2 separate regions of the Homo sapiens genome follow, and region 1 is linked to region 2. Evidence: promoter capture Hi-C in human tissues and cell types (Jung and others, 2019). All regions are on one chromosome and are shown on one strand. Each heading gives the region's core, a stretch centred on a gene start or on the middle of the fragment in contact. The rest is flanking DNA. Distances are from core to core; before and after follow the strand shown.

Region 1 (3,178 bases), core at 515-3,014, 340 kb before region 2:
AAGCTTTTCTTGGGGACCCAAACTTTGTACAAGGAAGTCTATCTGACAATTCCTTGAAATCTGACTGTCATCTAGAACTCCCTTGAAATGTGTGACAAGGTTGGTTTGGTCAAAGATGGTTTCCGGCTGCCTGCGCTGAGCCCTTCGGTTTCCCACTTCCCTGAAGATTTGGCACAAGACAGTCCACGGTGCAGCGCCATTTTTCCCCCAAAGAAAAAGTGTCCGATGTCAATTATGGCAATGGCAATGGCAGGCAATCAGGAATACTTCTCAAACATTCTAAGAGAAGAAAGAGAGAAGCAGGGGGTGGGAGAAGGGAACAGATGAACGGGCACTGGGAAAACCACCCAAGCCAAGGAAGTTACATAGTGGTCTTCCAACTTCTGTGCTCACATGTTCCTGAATCATTTTGAAAAGCTACATATCCCTTTGTTAGCCTGACACTTCAGATTTTTCACGATAAGTTTAAATACTTATTTTGCTCATGAAAAGAAAATAATAAGTATTTTATAAGACGAGGATTGACTATACGTGGAATAAATGTTTCATGATATGGTTTGGTAAAATAGGTTTAACTACCTTTTGGAATAGCATGCTGAAACCAAAAGAAAACAAGAAAAATGTTCATCCTGGGTTTTATCCATATAGTTTGAAAAATTTAGAGGTCCAGGGAGCATTCTAGTTATACTTAAGAGAATCACTATCATTAACTACCCTACTTCAGTTGTTCTGAAATCAAAATATTCCTCCCTGCCCCAAGCATTTCCCTTAATAGAAATTCCTATAGATGAGAAGAGACAGAAGAGCTGCAGGTCTAAGACACTCTGGCTCCTCATCGAAGAAGGCTGCTCTATAACCAACCATTTCTCATTTTTCCTTTGACACTCGGGGGTTTTGTACACAGTGGGATTCCAGATGGGTGACAGGTAAGCCTCTCTCCCATGAAGTGCAGGAAGGGCCACGTGCCCAGCATCCTCCTGCTGTCTTAGTATAGAATCCCAGATGCATGCTTCAGAACCTGGAAGTTCACTCCCTTGAACCATCTGTAGAGAGCACCCCTGGGAAGTCCAATGCCCCTGCACACCACAGTTTGAAGGCGGAGCATGGCAGAGGGGCCAAGCAGGGCAGAGCAGCGGGGGCCGCTCTGCAGCAGCCCCTTCCCAAAGTCACAGGGCTGCTGGGAAACTCCTCCCACACTGTCCCCTGGGCCTGCTCAGCTGGCTTCGTCTCCATCTCCTCATGTCCAGTGCTCAGGCGTCCTCCTGACACCAAAGGGTGGGAGCCCCAGGCTGATTCCCTTGCAGGGAAATCCTTTACGAAGGCACTTTCTGCCTGCAGTCTTCGTATTGTTCACCTGGGGAGGCAGGCTCATTAAAAGCATGTACTTTTAAGCCAGAAAGACCTGGGTTCCAATCCCAGTGCCATCACTGAAGAGCTGTGTGACCTCGGGTAACTCACTTGGTCTCTCTGAGCCATGGTTTCCTCATCTGGAAATAGAGGTGCCTACCTGGTAGAAGTGTGTGAGAATTAAACAACATGAGGTCTGTTAAGCAGCCAGTGCCAGGCCTGGCCTGTGGCAAGCATGCAGTGAAGAGTGGTACCTCTCCAACCTCCACTTTGCTCCTCCTGGTTCCTGTCTCTCTCCCTCCCCCACCTGTCCTCATCCAGAAGACCCCACCCTGCAAAACTCAACTCAGCTTCCATCACCACTATTTGCCCTCCCACCCCGACACACTCTTTCCTTTCTCTGTATTCCTTTAGGACAAATGGTCTCAACCAGACAATATTAACCAGACAGCGGGGGCTAAATCATGCTGCTATACTCATCTAACACTTACTGAGGCAGCACACGCCAGGCATTGGCAGGGGTAGGGGTGGGGGTTGAAGTAGGTGGAGTTGGGGGAGGGAGAGGAGATCATGTTCTCTGTAATGCTTTACAGTTAACACTGGATTGTACACAGGCATCGCTTCTTTTAGTTTTTGCATCAACGCATATTGGTCTCGTTCCACTTTTACCGATTAAGAACCTGAGACTCAGAAAAGAGAATGACTCGCCTGGGGTCACAGGGCCAGCAAGCAGCAGAGCCAGAACCCCCAAGCCAGGGTTCTTCCCAGTCCCGCAGCGGCTTCCTAAGCTCTTAGCATCTACTCAACTTCCCAGATTGTGCCAGAGTCTAAACGCCATGACAACAGGCTCCCATGTACATTTCACTTGTGAAATCCCATTTTATACTCGCCAAGGAAAGTCATCACACGGTGCAGTATGGGCCCAGTGGCTGACGGTGAAGGAACCGAATCAGATAGCCCCCAGCTCACGTCCTGCCTGGGAAGCCTTGGACAAATAACTTTACCTCTCTAAGCCTCAGTTTCTTCATCTTCCAAGTGTGAATAAAGAGTCATAATATCTTCCACATGGGGTTGTTGCGAGCATCAGCTGAGATAATGCGGATCCATGCTCAGCACAGAACTGGCACCAGGCCCCACTCAGCAAATATGAGATGGAGGAGCTGCACCCTGCAGGCACTGAGGTCACCGGCCATGGCCCACATCAGTGTGATGTGTAGTGAGCTAAGAGACGTTTTTACAGGTTTGATCCCTTTGGGAGGCACTGACTTAGCGCTTGCGTGCCCAGCCCAGGGCAGCCCTTACCGACAACAGCTGCAAGAGGGCATGGCCTGGCCCTTCCGCAGCACCTGCGGGAAGCCCCCATGGTGTGGGACTGGATCCTAGCCCACCTCAAGGCCCAGAGAGCCCCTTCCCACGCCAGCCCGGGCTCCCACACTGCGGTCCTGCAGACTCTTCCCTTGTGTTCTACAGATCTTGCCCCAGGATCCCATGGACAGTTCCTGTGGATCAAAGACAGTCCAAGAAGGCCACGTGCCCTTCACTCAGAGGGGACACAGCCCATAGCATGAGTCAGCGCTGCCCCTTAGGCTCACAGATACAGCCTTCAAGCAAGAGTGGCTGCACCCCAGAACACAGGTCCAGAATGTCAGCTGGAGTCTCCAAGCCACCACCGCCTTCCATAGACAGCAGCATGTTCTGCAGGGGGTCTGAGTGATTCATTCAAGGTCACATAGTGAGTCATTTGGCAGAGTGAAGACTCAAGTCCAGGACCACTCATAACAATGGTGTCTGAACCAGCAGGGCCCACATGTATCTGGGAGCCAAGGATGGA
Region 2 (2,814 bases), core at 308-2,807:
AGGAAGTTTCAGGTGATACAAGATGTCCTGCCATCACACCTGAAGGATGGTTGTCCACAGCCATTTTTTAAAATCTCGTATTAGTCCTCTTCCTTCAACACTCAGGACAGTATTATGTACCCAGAAACTCAATACTTCCTGGCGTCTTCATTTGACAATACTCTTAAGCCAATGAAATCCTGTGGGACGTTTGCGAATTTTATAAAGATCAATGTTTTAAGATTGGCGGGGTGGGCTGGGAGTGGTGGGGGGGAAGGTGCCTTCCTACCCTTGCATTTGCATCTCAAGCCACCCGTACCCGAGGCCCACCCAGTCCATCTGTTCATTGGTAGATACACCATTCCGCCATTCCGCCAGTGGCTGGTGCAGAGAACCAGGACCACCACCTTTGAAAAGACCTAAATCAATACTCCAATGGGATCCTGATGTCAAGTATTTAACGACTTTGCTTTACCTACTACAGTAATTAAAATTAAGTCTTCAAACTTAAATTTAAATTTCTAAAAGCAGGAATGCACTGTCCTTAATCTTAAACACCAAAGGTGGGAGAAAGAGGCCAGAATCCTAGGGTACTAGGCCTACTGGTATAGGGCGATCTCTTCTGCTTTTTTCTTTCCACCCCATTTCTTTTCCCTTTCTCCTTTCGTTTCCCATCTTCTCTCTTCTCGTTCTCTTCGAAGTAACAGTGACAAAATTAAGGTGATTCAATTATTCCAAGAGGCTTGCTCATATAAAATATTTCTCTTCAAGCCCTTTCCTGAAATCCCAAATTAAAGCATTTCCAATAGTCTCTGCTTTAAGTATTCCTAGTTAAGTCTACTTTTGGAAATATTAAATATTCTCACTTTGGCACAATATTCCAAAATTCCTTGAGAAGTTCGCCTACGATCAGTCTTGCTAGTAGAAACCTTTTTTTTTTTTTATTTAAAACGCTCGATTTCCACTTTTTACTAGGTTTCCCAATGTTGGCGATGTCTCCCAATGACTTAATAACGTGTATCCACTTCACCTTTGAAAATCTTAGAGGTCAGTGCATCCACCGGCATCCGGGAATTTATTCTTATTTCTGCTTCTTAAACAGGCTCTGGGGAGGAGCAGTTTCGACGGAGAAGTTCATAGCAGCAGTTATTACGGAACTTGCAACAGTTGGTGCCGGGCGATAGGCAGGTTGGAAGTGATAAATGGGGCTGGCGTAAAAAACAAAAAGCCCCGGGGAGGGCGGGGGCAGCCGTGGCCTTGGGGGACAGTGCGAAGGCGGCGCGGGGCCAGCGGGACTGACTTCCGGCTGTGGGAAGGCGCCGTCCCGGGCGGCCAGAGGCGGCGGCAGCCGCGTAGAAGGACGGCGGGATCGCAGCCCGGCGGGCGGCGCGCGGGGCGGGTGAGCGGGCCCAGGCCGCCCCCGGGCCACGCCGGGGCCACGGTGAGGTGAGGCCGGCCCTGCCCCCGCACCGCCCCCGGCAGGAGGCGCGACGCCCGGGCCGCGGGTGCGTGCGCGGCCCCGGGCGACGCGGCTGGGCGTGCGCGGGGCCGCGGCGGAGGCTGGGCCGGGCGGGCGGCAGAAGATGGCGAGGGTGTGTAGGCGGCAGCAATGCTCCGTTGAGAGACGCGGCTTTCGGCAAGAACTGGATTCGTGGCGCCACAAGCTCATTCACTGTGTAGGTGAGACCCTCCGCCGACCGCCGCCGCCCCTCCGGCCGCCCCGCCGCCGGTCGCCCCAGACCAGGGAGGAAGCTGGGGAAGTGGCAATTGCTGCTCCGGCCCGCCCGCCCTCTTTGGCTCGAGCGTCCCCCCTTCCCCCACCCCCCGGAGTGTGAGCGCGCGCGACCTCCAGGCGGGCTCCCCTGCTCGGCCGAGCGCGCGCCGGCCCCTCCCCTCCGCGCGCCTCCCCGGGGCTGGCTCTCGGCGGGAGCGCGGGTTCCTCCCCCTCCCGCTCTCCATCCCCGCCTGCTCGCTCCCCTCCCTCCCCGCTCCCGCCCCTGCTCCCGCTCCAGGCCCGGCGCCCCGGCGCCGCCGCCGGCTTATTGTGGCGACTCGCCTCGCGGCGCTGCCGCTGTACTGGGGGAGGCGCGAGGGGCGCGGGCGTGCTCGGCCCCCACCCGCGCTGTGGCCGCCGCCGTCCTCCTCCTGCGCCACCCCTCCCCCACGCGCGGGGCGCGCCCCCGGGTCTGCGTGCACGCGCGGCGGGCTGCAGGCGGGCGCCCGGCGCTCGGGCGTGTGCGAAGCGTGAGGTGGAGATGGGGGCGGAGGGAGCTGGAGCTGTCACAGTCCCCGGGTGCGCCTGACCGAGCCAAGTGGGGTGTCATGGCCGCGGGGGGCAGCGGCTGCACTTCCTCAGCGGGCGGCGGTGGCCGGGGAGTTAATCCTCGACGCACGGGTCGGTGTGTGCGTATTTGTGTTCGGTGTCGTGCTGCGGGAGGAGGGGGTGGGACCGGGTCCGACCGAGGAGCCCCGGCGGGGGTCGCTCTCGTCCCCTCCCGGGGATTGGCCGGAGCCGCAGCCTCGCCCGAATGCCCCGTCCGCCCCCCGCCTCCCGGACCTTGGGCCGCCCTCGGGTGGCTTTTTCCCTGCGGGCCGGAGGGAGCGCGGACGGGGGCGCCCCGGGAGGGGCCGGGCGGCCGAGCTGCGCCTCTCACACTGTGTGTTTTGTCTGTTTTTCTCTCCCAAGGTCCCGTTTCCCTCTGTGCGGCGGCCGGCGGGACCATAAGGGCTTAACTCATATATTTAACCCCCCTCCAAAAAGTAAGTGGCCCGTGTGGTGTCTCCGCTCCGCCCGCCGCCCCCTAGCCCCAGTCCATCCTTGTGTCTGACTCTCCT

Evidence for each region. Contacts are between HindIII fragments. The study calls those that stand out against the background at their distance.
Region 1: a contact is called between a fragment that was not itself captured here and the fragment with the promoter of LCOR in region 2, in 1 of the 25 tissues and cell types used here (H1 embryonic stem cells).

What each region holds. Positions count from the first base shown.
Region 1 is chr10:96,485,677-96,488,854 of GRCh38, forward strand. The region is part of intron 1 of TLL2 (tolloid like 2); the gene reads right to left. Among named protein-coding and RNA genes, the nearest start is that of TLL2, 27 kb to the right of the region's middle. RefSeq lists an enhancer at 1,160-1,659. The HindIII fragment of the contact is 6,246 bases long and covers 1-3,178 here.
Region 2 is chr10:96,830,741-96,833,554 of GRCh38, forward strand. LCOR (ligand dependent nuclear receptor corepressor) reads left to right here and starts at 1,558. Exons shown (of 8, transcript NM_001346516.2): 1 at 1,558-1,659; 2 at 2,666-2,739. LOC102723665 (a long non-coding RNA gene) reads right to left here and starts at 1,718. Exons shown (of 1, transcript NR_135921.1): 1 at 1-1,718. RefSeq lists a cis regulatory region at 1-105, silencers at 1,141-1,440, 1,461-1,510, 1,521-2,240, 2,281-2,340, 2,381-2,620 and enhancers at 1,367-2,081, 2,082-2,797, 2,798-2,814. The HindIII fragment of the contact is 19,511 bases long and covers 1-2,814 here.